5 separate regions of the Homo sapiens genome follow, and all the other regions are linked to region 2. Evidence: promoter capture Hi-C in 16 types of primary human blood cells and fetal thymus (Javierre and others, 2016). All regions are on one chromosome and are shown on one strand. Each heading gives the region's core, a stretch centred on a gene start or on the middle of the fragment in contact. The rest is flanking DNA. Distances are from core to core; before and after follow the strand shown. Region 1 overlaps LRRC74A (leucine rich repeat containing 74A). Region 2 holds the start of CIPC (CLOCK interacting pacemaker). Region 3 overlaps SPTLC2 (serine palmitoyltransferase long chain base subunit 2). Region 4 overlaps LOC105370577 (a long non-coding RNA gene). Region 5 holds the start of VASH1-AS1 (VASH1 antisense RNA 1).

The links. Contacts are between HindIII fragments. The CHiCAGO score rates a contact against its expected background, and 5 or more counts as called.
Region 1: a fragment that was not itself captured here is called in contact with the fragment with the promoter of CIPC in region 2 in 11 of 17 cell types (activated CD4 T cells, total CD8 T cells, non-activated CD4 T cells and 8 more); the score reaches 10.1 in activated CD4 T cells.
Region 3: a contact is called between a fragment that was not itself captured here and the fragment with the promoter of CIPC in region 2, in 2 of 17 cell types (naive B cells and total B cells). The highest score is 7.8, in naive B cells.
Region 4: a fragment that was not itself captured here is called in contact with the fragment with the promoter of CIPC in region 2 in 10 of 17 cell types (naive CD4 T cells, naive CD8 T cells, fetal thymus and 7 more); the score reaches 9.1 in naive CD4 T cells.
Region 5: a contact is called between a fragment that was not itself captured here and the fragment with the promoter of CIPC in region 2, in 3 of 17 cell types (naive CD8 T cells, total CD8 T cells and naive CD4 T cells). The highest score is 6.5, in naive CD8 T cells.

Annotation. Positions count from the first base shown.
Region 1 is chr14:76,829,261-76,831,960 of GRCh38, forward strand. LRRC74A (leucine rich repeat containing 74A) reads left to right here. Exons shown (of 14, transcript NM_001385106.1): 3 at 1,943-2,115. Among named protein-coding and RNA genes, the nearest start is that of LRRC74A, 4.2 kb to the left of the region's middle. The HindIII fragment of the contact is 154 bases long and covers 1,321-1,474 here.
Region 2 is chr14:77,096,946-77,099,645 of GRCh38, forward strand. It overlaps CIPC (CLOCK interacting pacemaker), which reads left to right and starts at 1,313. Exons shown (of 4, transcript NM_033426.3): 1 at 1,313-1,416. It overlaps LOC124903350 (a long non-coding RNA gene), which reads right to left and starts at 1,073. Exons shown (of 2, transcript XR_007064275.1): 1 at 931-1,073. RefSeq lists enhancers at 544-593, 955-1,784, 1,924-2,083 and a silencer at 774-923. The HindIII fragment of the contact is 10,027 bases long and covers 1-2,700 here.
Region 3 is chr14:77,548,197-77,550,896 of GRCh38, forward strand. All of the region lies in intron 9 of SPTLC2 (serine palmitoyltransferase long chain base subunit 2), which reads right to left. Among named protein-coding and RNA genes, the nearest start is that of ISM2, 51 kb to the left of the region's middle. The HindIII fragment of the contact is 172 bases long and covers 1,344-1,515 here.
Region 4 is chr14:76,714,573-76,717,272 of GRCh38, forward strand. All of the region lies in intron 1 of LOC105370577 (a long non-coding RNA gene), which reads right to left. Among named protein-coding and RNA genes, the nearest start is that of VASH1, 46 kb to the right of the region's middle. The HindIII fragment of the contact is 792 bases long and covers 884-1,675 here.
Region 5 is chr14:76,785,428-76,788,127 of GRCh38, forward strand. It overlaps ANGEL1 (angel homolog 1), which reads right to left. Exons shown (of 10, transcript NM_015305.4): 10 at 582-2,700. It overlaps VASH1-AS1 (VASH1 antisense RNA 1), which reads right to left and starts at 1,297. Exons shown (of 2, transcript NR_104184.1): 1 at 658-1,297. The HindIII fragment of the contact is 1,773 bases long and covers 417-2,189 here.

The DNA of each region.
Region 1 (2,700 bases), core at 148-2,647, 270 kb before region 2:
GATGGAGGAAGGCCAGTTCTGCCAAATTAAACTGTGAAGTTCATCTGCATAGAGTCAGTTTATAAACCTCCCCACCATGGTCAACATACAACATACATCTTCACCCTTCTACGCAGACCTCCTCCCCGCTGACCCCCAGGCAGCTTGTTGCTCTTTTTCTGGCTTCTTGTCCACTTCAAGTCTGTTGTTAACGTTGCTTCTAACACCCAACTTCATTCACATGGTTGGAGAAGGTAGCAAAGGACAACACTGGATGTTTGGCCAAAGGGTCCTGTTTCTATCTCATTCCCCCATCTCTTCCCCTGACTGCAGCAAGTGCTAACACTGTCGCAAGCTGCCCATAAAATATAACAATAGGGAACACAGCTAGAAAGGGTCAGCATCAAACCCAGCAGAATTAGTCCCAGGGACAAAACCTGGGGGTTACCTTCCCTGCTTTTGCCAACAGGAACCTCTAATGGCTGAATGTGGCACCAAAAACTCTGTCCTGAATGGTAACTCGGGGCTCAGCAGCCCTGGCTCCTGGTGCTCCTGCTGTGGGTGCTGAGACACTGGGAATGGGCAGGGAGGGCATGGGAAATGGGCCAGCTGGGAGCAGTGCTGGCTGTGAGTCTAGAGAAAAGGGGGAGACGAGCCTGGTTTGCTCACTTGCCATGAGCTGTTTTTCTCCACAACAGTGGTTCTCACCTGGAAGCAATTTTGCACCAAGGGGACATTGGGCAAACTAGGGGAGGGGGGTTGCTACTGGCATCTTGTGGGTCCACGCCAGAGATCCTACTAAACACCCTACTATGTATAGGACAGCCCTCAGAACAGAATTATCCAGCCCAAAATACCTGCAGTGCTGAGGCTGAGAAGCGCTGCTGTACAAGCGTCCCAAAGAGAAGTCTAATTTGTAGTTGTGCTTGCAAAATCAGCTTCCCTGTAAAGCACTTGTCCTTTCACCAACAAAGCTCCCATTGTCAGCCTTAGATTGTTTGGAGGGGGAGGGGGTTGGCCAAAGGCCCTGGGATCTGAAGGAAAAACAGATGCAGACATAGACGCCAGCTGGCCTCAGGAAGCCCTGCCATAGGCTGGACTTGCCTAATGAGGACACAGCTGTGGGGCACCCAGAATCCAGGGAGGCCCGATGCCCAGTGACCATGGGCCAGGCTGGCCTAAAGCCTAAGAAATAAAGGCCCCCAGGGGTTAGAATGGAAAGGTGCAGTCCCCACTTCTGTTAGCTGGTTTTAGCATTGACCAACTGTGTGTTATTTGAGGCTAGGTTTGTCGTCAATAAAGCAAGGATGACAGTCCTTTTTATAAGGAAAATGACATGCAAGCTTTTGAAAGAAGAAAGACCATTCACATGCAAGCATGCTTGTTTCTCGCTGATGTGGAGGTCTTTCCATATTCACTGGTTTGCCATTTTGAGAAGTCCACTCTGTCCTAGTTGGGCTTTTTAAATGTTGGTGCCTCTCTAAGTCTTTGGTGAAGCTTTTTTCATGACTCACAACCTTGTGATAGTGGCGGTGAAACTAAAAGTGAAATGAAGATTCCATCAACCATCAAAAGTCATCCGCGTTTGGCCTTTCAGAATTGTCCAAAGGTGGGCAAGAGGGCTTGGGCCTTCTATGTCCTTGATGACCAGTCACTGGATGTGGCCAACCTGGGCAGGTGGGGTGAAGCCCACTGCTCACTTCTAGGAAAGCTTCTGGCCTAAAACCATGGGCCTCATCTCCTACCCAAAGGGAAACATTCATCTGGGACTTTCTGGAGTTAGAGTCTCCCTCTCCCACCATGGACTGACTTCCCAGACAGGAGCAGGCTTCTTAGCACATACCCACAGGGAGAGATCCTCTGGCAGAGGACAGTCTAGACATGAGTGAATGTCACTGGGGCTAGAGGGGAGAGAAGGCAAAGGTGGAAGAGAAATCCTACTTCAGCCCATCTTTCTCTGCAGATGATGAGAAATTTTTCACCACTGGACAAAAGGAGCTGTACCTGGAGGCCTGCAAGCTGATGGGTGTAGTGCCTGTCTCCTACTTCATTCGGAACATGGAGGAGTCCTACGTGAACCTCAACCACCACGGCCTGGGCCCCAGGGGTACCAAGGCTATTGCTATAGCCCTGGTGGTGAGCATGCTAGTGGGAGCTCATGAAACCTGGAGGAGGTGGAGGGTTGGCAGAGTGGTAGGCCCAAGATTCAGAGGGCCCCTCCTATGGAGCCTAAACCCACACTTTATGCCCTTATGCCACACTGCCCTGGGCTCTGCTTGGCTGCCAGATGATTTATTTAGCTCCTGGTAGGAGGCTACTAGCAACCTGGGCCTTGGAAGTCTATGCTCCTTGCAGAGACTTTGAGGAGAAAAAAATAGAAGTCTATATACTCTTTGCTGTTCAGGAAGCAAAGGCACCAGCCCCTGGGCCCAGGAAAAGTGACCAGGCCCAATTATCAATGTAAGAGCACCAACAAAATGCCAGCCTGGGTCTTCATTCCAAAGCTCACTTTTGCTGTAAATGGGTTTACTACTGACCCATTCCATTCAATGTCTGCCTTGTGCAACATTATATTTCATAAAGACCACGGTGTAGAGTAAATCAAGTTTTCCCACAGAAATAGTGTTATCTCTCAGCTTGGTATGACCAAACAAGGACTTGACCTTGAGTTCATCATGACTTTATATAATTATAACTGATTTACACACAAAACTGACTCCC
Region 2 (2,700 bases), core at 63-2,562:
AAAGGATGCATATAAAGCGGCCCGGCTCCTAATTACTTGGTAATTGTTAACTATTGCTTTCACTCTGTCCCCAAAACAAAAGCCTTACATGGTGTAGGCATATTACTTGTTGGTAAAGCTGACTACTAACAAGTACACCCATACCCAGTAATACATTAGAATTACCTGTGTCTAGAGGACTAACGTGATTAACCACGACCTAGCAGCACTTACAAAGGCCTGGATGACCAGTATAAAACAATTCCCCACTATCTAAATCAGCACTGTCCAATATAACTTTCTGCGATGCTGGGAATGGGCTATATATAATCTGCACTGTCCAATAAAGAGGTCACTGAGCTCCTGAAATGTGGCTAGTACAACTGAGAAACTTATCCAGTCGTTAGTGACCATCTTACTGGACAGCTCAGCTCTTGAATCTGCCTCGACCCGTCAACTCTTTAAACTCGCCCATGTCCTCTTTTTCACTAGCGAAATAATTCTTTTTCTAAGTAACCTTCACTGATTCAAGGCATCAGAACGTCAACTGATCCCAAGCCCTTTTTTTCTTTAGCTGTTACACACGTGTGTTCACCGTGAACCTTCACCAAGAAACAGCATCCATATAAAACCCATAGCACATGACAAAGTCAGTCAAACATCAAAGGTCATGAAATCATCTACTTAAAATAACTCATCGCGCCTCGACCTCGTGAAGCACGGTCTCGAGGGTGGACGGGAACAAAAAACAAACAGGGCGACAGGCGTAGAGAAAATGCGAGGAGCACGCGGGGAGGTCTGGCACCCCTGTCACGGCGACTCCAGGCTGAGGCCGCCCGCACGCCCGCTCTCCCACGCCGGGCACTGTCGCTCCCGGCACGCGCACAGGCCGGACACGACTCGCCCCGGCCCCCACCCCCAACGGCGGCACGGCGGCACGGCGGCACGCACCAAGACAGTGCGAGAGTCGCTCCTCTCTCTGTATCGACTCCAAGCCGGCCCCACCCCCGGCTCCTCTGAACCCCGCCTGGAAACCTTGCCCAAGCCGCTCATTGCTCAAGGCCCCCGTACAAAATGGCGGCGAGGCCTGAGGAACCAACCATAGAGACGCCCGCCGGCCGCGGACAGAGCGTAGGCCTCTGAGCGCTGGCCCCGCCCCGCGCCGGCCTGGTCTTCCGGCGGGGGCGGGGAAAGGGCGCATTTCCAAGGGCCCTTCTAGGAGAACAGCGTGCGGTCTCCATGGTGCCGGGTCATCCGAGTCGGGTCACGTGGCTGGCGAAAGCCGTCGCGGAGGCGTGGGGAGGAGAAATGGGCGGGAGGCTGTGGGGATAGCGAGACACCCAGCGACGACGAGGTTGTCATGGTGCCGCGGGGCCGTGCTCGCGCATGCGCCACCTGACCCACAGGCCGGTCGTGGAGCTGCGACCCCGGCCCTAGGTGAGAAAGGGAGGGCTCGGTCCGGGAGGAGGGGAGCAGGGATGACGGCGGGAGAGGGATTGGGCGAGGAGCGTGGGGAAAGGAGGTGGAAGTAGGGGAGAGAGGAAGAGGAGCGAGTAGGCAAGAGGGGCAAACCGGGACTTTCGGAGGACGGAGAGCCAAATGGTGGGAGCAGGGCTTTGGTTTGCTGTGAGGGGCGTGGGAGAGGGAATCGCGGGTGAGGAGGGGGCTGCGTGTGGGGAGGAGGCTTGTGTGAGGGGCAGGTGGGCCCTGGTCTAGCCCTGGGCGCAACCGCCAGCCGGCTGGGCGGGGAGAGAGCTTGGAGTCCAGCCCGGCTGGGAGCTGAGGGCCAAGCAATGGGCAGGTGAGTGGGCGCCAGAACTAGTAACTGGGCGAGGGTCCTGGGCTTCCGGTTTGAGGTCGGGGGTGGTACCCTGTTCTGGCTCCAGGGCACAGGTGTGCTGCCTTTTCCAGAGACCTGCCGTCACCCTCGTTGCTGGTTGTTTCCCCTGAGTGGCCAGCTTGCCAGGCTTGGTGTCGGGGGTAGTGTTTCTGGGGAGAAGGTGGGCAGTGCCAAGTAAGGAGTTAAGTGGTTAGTGGGTGGGTTCGGGGGAGCTCTGATCCCGGCCCAGGTCACAGGCTGGAGCTAGGCTCCCTGTTATTGCTCAAGTCCTGGCAGTATGCATTGCCTGGGCGTTTGCCCTGGAAGGCTGGTGGTATGCCAGTCACAGCACAGTACTAGGGTCTGCCCAGTTTTGCCCTGCTGAGCTGGCAGGCTGGTGGATGCCTGGAGGGTGCACATGCTGCCTGGCACAGATGCAACGTGGGCTGGTGCGAATGGGTAGGTGGGCACTGTTACTGTGAACTAATTGCAGCAGGGGATCGGAGAAAGTTCTCTAAGCTCATCTCCCCTTTGAAAGGTGAAAATAGAGCCAAACTGGTCTAAAACATAGGAAATTGTATGGAATTGGGGTTCAGGATCTTTGACACGAATTTTCAGCCAAGTTGGAGAAATGGAATGAATGTGGAAGGGAAGATGAATATTAGACATTTAGGTAGACAGGGTTTTTCCACTGTTAAGATACCCAGACATTCTCCCAGAATGGTATCCCTGAATATGCAGGCCAAAAGAAAATGACTTCGGAGAAAAGCTAGTAATGTATTTATAATTCTAACGGGGATTACTCAAGGTTTTCTTTCTGTGACCTTATCACTTTATTGTATTTAAGCCTCTGGTTGGGCTTTTACCTCACACTTCTGTCCAGGCACACATGTTATACACGT
Region 3 (2,700 bases), core at 180-2,679, 450 kb after region 2:
TCTGGCTTAACATTCAACTATTCAAGCAATGTTACAATAAAGTACTTGAAGAACCCACTGATTTTCTGGTATTGCCAATCATGCGTGCATTCATTCAGTCATTCAATAAATTTACTGAAAGGATCCTAGATGTCACACACTAAGCTGGGTGCTATGCATGTTATTATTAACTACACCTTTGGACAGAAATAAAATACATCAAAGCACAGCTCTGGAAAATGGAAAAGCAAAATTTTAGTTGATTTGGTCAAACACTTTGCCTTGATTCGTATGTAGATACTACAGCTAAATTTCCATTAGTGGACACGGATTAGTGATGTGTAAAGTAAAAGTTAGAATTTCAAATGTCTAGTGGAATTTAACAGAATTTCCTAGGCCTCATTTTTTCTACTCCCTGGCCTGTGCTCAGTATTCCCACTCCAGGTACAGGCATCCTGGCAGCACAATTCCCATTCATTATTATCTCACCTGAGATCCTAGTGAAGTTGCCTTTCAAGATCTGTCAACCTAGTCATATGTCCTGTTCTTCCTTGGGAAAAGGATAGAAACTGGAGGGGAAATGCGGAAAAAGTTGGGAGGAAGGGGAAAGGAGCGCTCACAAAGTCGTGTGGAAACTGGATCTCACCTTCCCTTACATGCTGCAGCTTTTCTGAAGGCTCTGTACTCTCACCAAAGAGCAACATTTCTTCACACAAAAAGATGAAAACATTTAACAATAAGCAACCACATATACATGTTTAAGCCTTACTTTCAATACCAGGTACTTAATGTACTCTGGAATCCAACAATAACAAAGTTTTAATGATAAATGTAATATATTCACTGACATGGTTTGGATGTTTGTCCATCTCAGGATGGAATGTGATCCCCAATGACGGAGGTAGGGCCTGGTGGGAGGTGTGTGGATCATGGGGAGGATCCTCGTGAATGGCTTGCTGCCATCCTTGGGTAATGAGTGAGTTCTCGCTCTGAGTTCTCCCAAGATCTGGTTGTTTAAAAAAGCATGGTACTTCTCCTTGAGACTGCATCTCAAAAAAAAAAAAACCAGCCACAAATTCTTTGACATGCCTCCACTGGGGAGGTGGAATCTAGTTCCCCACCCCTTCAATCCGGGATGGCCTTAGTGACCTGCTTGTTAACAACAGGTCAGAAAAGGTCATGGGGTTTCCGCCAGGTTCTTTGGAATGCTTGCTCTCTGAAGCATCCTTTCTGGGTACACAGTCACGATGTCATGAGGAGCCTAAGCCACATTGAAAAGATACATGCATGAAGGTGCTCTGGTCAACAGCCTCAGCTGAGCCTGGCTCCAAGTCACTCCAGCCCAGGTGACATGTGAGTGGAAAAGCTTCCAGATGATCCCAACCACCAACCATCTCAGTCTTTCCAGACACTTGAGTCTTCCAGGCCAGCCCCAGACAACAGAGCAAAGACAAGTCATCCCTGCTGTGCCCTGACCGAATTCTTGACCTGTGGCATCTGTGAGCATAATCAGATGGCTGTTGTGTCACATCACTAAGCTTTGGGGGTGGCTAGAGGCAAAAACTAGAAAACTTGTGCTGATCCAAAGCCTATATATAATTACCATGTTTCATTTTCTCACTACTAGCACAGCCCAGATTTCATCATTTAGTACAGATAAGTCATTTATCTGGGGGTAATGTGTCACACAGATCCATGTTCTGGAACAGGGCAAATAAATTATCCAATGTTAACTTTGATAGCTCTTAGCCATTTCTTAGTCACCTAAACCTGTGTGCTGAATCAGTAAGGTAAGTGTGCCTATGTGAAGTACCTAGAGAAATGCTAGCTGTATGTATATATATGTGTGTATATATGTCTGTCTCTCAGATTCACACACAGTTTCCACTAACACCACATCAGAAGGAGAGGAGATATAGCTGTTATTAACAGGGAGCTATTCACAGGCTCCACTATGTGTTTGCAACATTAATAAAACAACTTCTTCAAGGAATTAATTCACAAAACTGAAAATGATCACATTTCACTATTTCCAAAAATCTCTCATTAGAGATAACAAGGATCTAGCACAGATCAGAAAAAATGTTAAGGTAAAATTCTGATTTAAGAAAACAGTCGACTGGGCGCGGTGGCTTACGCCTGTAATCCCAGCATTTTGGGAAGTCAAGGCAGGCAGGTCACCTGAGGTCGGGAGTTCGAGACCAGCCTGACCAACACGGAGAAACCCGGTCTCTACTAAACATACAAAATTAGCCGGGTGTGGTGGCGCATGCCTGTAATCCCAGCTACTCGGGAAGGCTGAGGCAGGAGAATCGCTTGAACCTGGGAGGCAGAGATTGTGGTGAGCCAAGATCATGCCATTGCACTCCAGCCTGAGCAACAAGAGCAAAACTCCATCTCAAAAGAAAGAAAAGGAAAGGAAAAGAAAAGAAAAGAAAACAGTCAGCTGGGTGTGGTGGCTCACAGCTGTAATTCCAGCACGTTGGAAGGCCAAGGCAGGCAGACTGCTTGAGCCCAGGGGTTCAAGACCAACCTGGGCAACATGGTGAAACCCCATCTCTACAAAAAATACAAAAAAAATGGCCAGGTGTGGTGGCAGACTCCTGTGGTCCCAGCTACTTGGGAGGCTGAAACAGGAGAATCATGTGAACCTGGGAAGCGGAGGTTGCTGTGAGCTGAGATCGCACCACTACACTCCAGCCCGGGAGACAGAGCAAGACT
Region 4 (2,700 bases), core at 30-2,529, 380 kb before region 2:
GAGGCTATGATTGAAAGAAAACCACTCAATTCCTTGTATCCCCCCAAACACATGTACACACATGCAGCTCTGTTCCAACCTCCTGGAAGGAAACTGGCTGTCACCAAAGGATTCCAGCCAAATACTTGGGGTTCCTCAAGGATATCTTTTGAAAACAACAACAACAAAAATGTAGATTTTTTTTTTTTTTTTTTTGAGACAGTCTCGCTCTTGTTGCCCAGGCTGGAGTGCAATGGCACGATCTTGGCTACTGCAACCTCCACTTCCCGGGTTCAAGCGATTCTCCTGCCTCAGCCTCCTGAGTAGCTGGGATTACAGGCGCCTGCCACCATGACCAGCTAATTTTTGGACTTTTAGTAGAGATGGGGTTGCACCATGTTGGCCAGGTTGGTCTCAAACTCCTGACCTCAGGTGATCCGTCCGCCTCGACCTCCCAAAGTGCTGGGATTACAGGCGTGAGCCATCGTGCCCAGCCAAATGTAGATGGTTGAACAGCTCCAGTCACAATGTAAAGTTTTAATTTTCCTCTGCAATAAAAGCAGCCTTTTTCTTAATGTTTTCTTTGATAGAGGGAAGCCCCCACCACCACTCCCGGCTTCTTTGCCCCAGCCCTCCTCTTTATCTAACCCAGCCAGATGTGTGCATTTTTTTTTTCCATTCACATGGCACAGGGTTTGAAGATGAGCTGTATCCCCCATTAGCCACTCTTTCCACCCCCGGAGAGACTCTGATTGTGGAGGATTCGTGCTGCTGACTGTAGATAAAACAATCGAGATGGGGGGCTGCTTTGGAAACGGGGGGGGGTGTGGGGATTTTTCCATCTGGAATCACAAGGCTTTTGGTGGTAGGCCCAGATGGAACCACGATCTGTCTGTGGAGACAAAGCTTCTTTTGGAACTGGTCATGGCCACAGGAATATGAGGTTTTTGACAATACGGTGGCCAAGAGATAGGAAACTGAAGTGGGTTATGAAATGCCAAGGACAGATCACTCTGACTCTGGTGAAGTAAGCCCATTAGTAAGCTGAACTCATGTAATTCATCAAGGAGCTTCCTTGAGCCGGTGAAAACAAGGATTGTAGAACTGTGAGTTCAGACCTGGACGTTAGAAAAACAACTCCCAAGTCAGCCAGTCTCCACCCTCTTAGCTTAAGTCATCTTTCGGCTGGGAGCAAACATGCTTCCTTACCACACCAGAACAATGCTAGGTCTTCAATTATTGTAAAGAATTTTACAAATGCTGAGTGTCCCTGTCGACACTATTAATGAACATCCTCTAAGCTGCACTTAAGCCAAATCCCAAGGGATAATTAGGGATACGGAACAATGATACAATGTAGATTGCCAGTTTGCTTGAAGCTCCCAACATCCAATTAGAGGGTGGTAGCGATTTCCCAGAGCACAGGAGATGAAAACCATCTGTCACAGCCTGCTTCCTAAATCCTCCCTTCCAGGAGCTCTTTCTGTCACCTAATAATGCCAAAAAGGAGCACCTTCTCGGCCCTGAAAGCCCATCTTCCGACCAGACATGAGTTAACAAGCTGCGCGCCCCAGGGCAGACCACATTTCCTCTCTGAGCCTTCATTTTCTCTTCTATAAAATGAACCTGCTGGACATGGGTTGGTGGCTTTCAAACTTTTGAAAGCAGTGGAAACTTTTGTTTTTCTCAAGAGGAAAGCTTGATGATGGAACTCAATTTGGAGTATCTTTATGTCACTGAGAGGAAGTATAATAAACACTCCACTAATCAGACTGCTGGAGGGAGACGGCTCAGCTCTTTTGTGTCTTAAATCTCCAAGCAGACTATCAGTCCCCATGGATTGGATCACTGCCTGCAAGTATTAACTGCTTAATAAATGTCACGTAGGAAAAAATGTGTGCTTCATTGGGAAACTGTGTATCCTTTAGAGCATACCCTTCCAGGTTATCTGAGTGCGATGCTTTAGGGTCTCTGGGCCATTCATTGCCTTTGAGCTATTTTTCAAATCTGTAAATTGTAGATAACTGATAGCAATGTAAATAATTCCTGTTTGCAGGCATGCAAATACATTCTGTCCCGAGGTGGTTCAATTTACTTCCTATTTTCCAAAGGAAAGCCAGTTTCCTTCTATTTGAAATATGTTTCCTTCTATTCGTAAATATATTTCCTTCTATTCGTAAATACACTTCAACATTGCTTTTCTCCATATAAATTTGTGCCTCTTTTGACTTCTCATTTGAACCGGTTGTCACATCTTACCAGCCTTCATTAATGATGCACTAAATACAATTTTAACATGTCCATTTTATGTTTGTAGGAATGTCATGATTTTAGCTTTCTTTGAAAATTGCCTTAGTTAAAAAGTTTATCAATAAAAATGAACATTTTTTTTTTCCGAGTTCTCCCCTGATGTCCAATAGCATTTATACTCACACACAGTTGACTTTAAAAGTATAATGTTATGGAAATGCCTTTAGGAAAGCAACACATGCTCATTGGGAATAAGAAATGAGAGAAAGAGCCACATGGGATACTAGGAGCTAGGCTCCCTTAGGCATAAAAGGGCAAGTCGGGGAGCAGTTACCCCAACTCAAGAGAGAAGCTATTGAGAAGGCTGGTGATAGGAGCTGAGGGCTGAAACAGGCGGAGGCAACCAACCCAGGGCAACCCAGTGTAATCACACCAGACCAATCTGGTTCAACTCTTTTTTTTTTTGAGACA
Region 5 (2,700 bases), core at 53-2,552, 310 kb before region 2:
ACTGGAGAGAAAAACAAAACAAAAAAAGCAGCAGCCTCCTGACTGGCCATTTCCCTTCTTGGTCTCCAGTTAAAAGCTGCCTCTGAGCTCCCCCAGCCCCAGGCCCCCACCACCAGCCTCTGCCTTCCAAGATAACCTGTCTTGCCTGATCCTGGAAAGGCTTGTGAGAAACTTGGGGTGGTAAGAAATAAACCAAAGGAGATTCTCAAATTCTATCTCTGGGATTTCTGTTTCCTCAGGTGTAAAGGTAGAATCTGAACACCACCTAAACTGCCACCACACAGTGCCACTGTCTTTGCTAGCTGACGTGGAAGTACTGTGCAAACTTAACAGAAGTGCTGTGGAGATGCTAACTGACTGAGGCAACTAGGAGGAACCCTCCCTGCCAGGAAGAGGTTCTTGGGGATATACCTCAAAGCTTAGGGCTTTCAAATACTTCCTAGCCAATGGGCCCAACTGTCCAGCCTGGCTGGGGTAACGATCTACTCCCAACTCCTACCAATAATTCTCTGGAATTCTTAGCACCTTTTTCTTGCCAAAGCCCAAACAAAGCAATTTCAGATCTGAAAATTCTTCACAAGTAGAAGTGATTATTAACTTTAATTTCTATTTCACCAAGGAATGTGAACTGAAATACAGAGAGGTTAAGTAACTTACCTACAGTCACCAGCTGAACAGGCCAAGAGGACAAATGATGTTTCTAATTCCTAGCTGAGTTTTCTTTCTTTTCTTTTCTTTTCTTTTTTTTTTTTTGAGATGGAGTTTCACTCTTGTTGTCCAGGCTGGAGTGCAATGGCATGATCTCGGCTCACCACAACCTCCGCTTCCCAGGTTCAAGCAATTCTCCTGCCTCAGCCTCCAAGTAGCTGGGATTACAGGCATGCGCCATCACGCCCGGCTAATTTTGTATTTTTAGTAGAGACGGGATTTCTTCATGTTGGTCAGGCTGGTCTGGAACTCTCGACCTCAGGTGATCCACCCGCCTCAGCCTCCCAAAGTGCTGGGATTACAGGTGTGAGCCACCGCACCCGGCCGCTAAGTTTTCTTTTTACTAAATCAATTGAGGGGATCGCAACCCAGGTAGTGCAATGGAAGCAACCAAGTGGCTTTAAATCAATCAGATTCTCAGAGACTGATTCAGAGGCCTGGTGTGGGTTCTGGGAACCTGTTCAGGTAAGACAGAAAACCAGATCTGGTTTCAGGGCTCCCAGTGGGCATGTGGGCTTGGCTGGTCTTACTACATAGGGAGGTTGGAAGACAAAAGCACCAACAGAGGTAGGCCTAGGAAGGAAGAGACATTTTTCCAGCGACAGATGGCCCACTGCTCAGCCCTGGCTCCAGAATGCAAAAGAGATCAGAAATAGATGCTCAGCAAGAGGCATGTGCCACCCGCATCATGTCTCATGCAGCTGCCATAGCTTTAATCAGGAAAACACACATCTTATCCCACTTTGCACAGACCCTCCTGAAGTGCAGAAGATACTAGGAGGAGGCATGGGGGGAGCAGATGGAGGAAGAATGAAAAGCAGTCCAAAGAATCATTCTCTCACTTGGGAAGGACAGAAGAAAGCTGTACCCCAGCAGTGTCAAGGCAGGAGGCTTCACTCAAGCCCTGTTCCTCCCAGGCCTCACAGCAGTGGGAATTTACCTCAGCTAATAGAGGGAGATCTTACAACACATTTCTCAATCTAGATTCATGTCTTGAGACCCCACCCCAAGATCAAAAGCTCCTTAGTCTCTTCCTCTGCCCACCTCATTCTTCAGGCCCTCTCTCAAGGACCTAATCCCTTCAGGATCCTAATAAAATGAACAACATTGGGGGGAAAAAAGGTAAACCTTTATTTGGAAAAAGAGTTTAAATAACAATTTAAAACCCCATTTCACTTTCAAAACAGAAACAAGAAAGCAAGGAAAAGATAATCTATCAAGCATCTGCCCTCTGCTGTGGTTAGCCATTTTAAAGCTGCATTTCCCAGCAGAAGAGAACAGTGATGGGCCCTAGTCCTAGGAACCCACAGGGCACTGTCTTGAGACCCTTTTAGGCAGTGTCCAGGGAACAGACAGACAGAATGAATGGTGGGGTGTAGACAGACCTGGGGCTCAGACAGGCACATGCCCAGTACCCAGGAAACAAAGTTTGAAAATATATACACATAGAAAAATAAATTCCCTAGAACCTAGGCATGGAAAGCTTCTAACCATGAATGCAGCAGCACAATGCAAACTGGGTCTTTGGCTTTCAAAAAAAGGAAAGAACCTTAACCCCTGGCTTACTGTCCCGAACTCAAGTCTCTTGACCACTGTCTTCAGTCCCACTTTGGAGGTCGAGTGAGGCAAGAGCAAGTCAAATCTACCAGGGCCAGCAGCCACTCTGACTTAGGGAGATGTGTGGAGGGGCTGGCCCAGGATCTCCCAAGGCCACACCCCAGCAATGAAAGATTAAGGCATGCAGGTGACACAGTGTGGACTAAGGAGTCCCCTGAATAAGCCAGGGTACCCTTCTGTTAGGGGAGGGAAAGCAGACGCAACAAGCAGCTGAGGCCTTGCTGGACAGAGCCAATCCGCAAGTACTGCCACTTCAAATTCTTGGACCAGTTTTGTCCAAGGCCACCTTTCTGCTGAGGCAGTTTGGCCTGAGCTAAATACCAGGGTTTTCTAGAAAGGAAATGGAAGGGAAGCGGGAGATGGGAGATAGCAGAA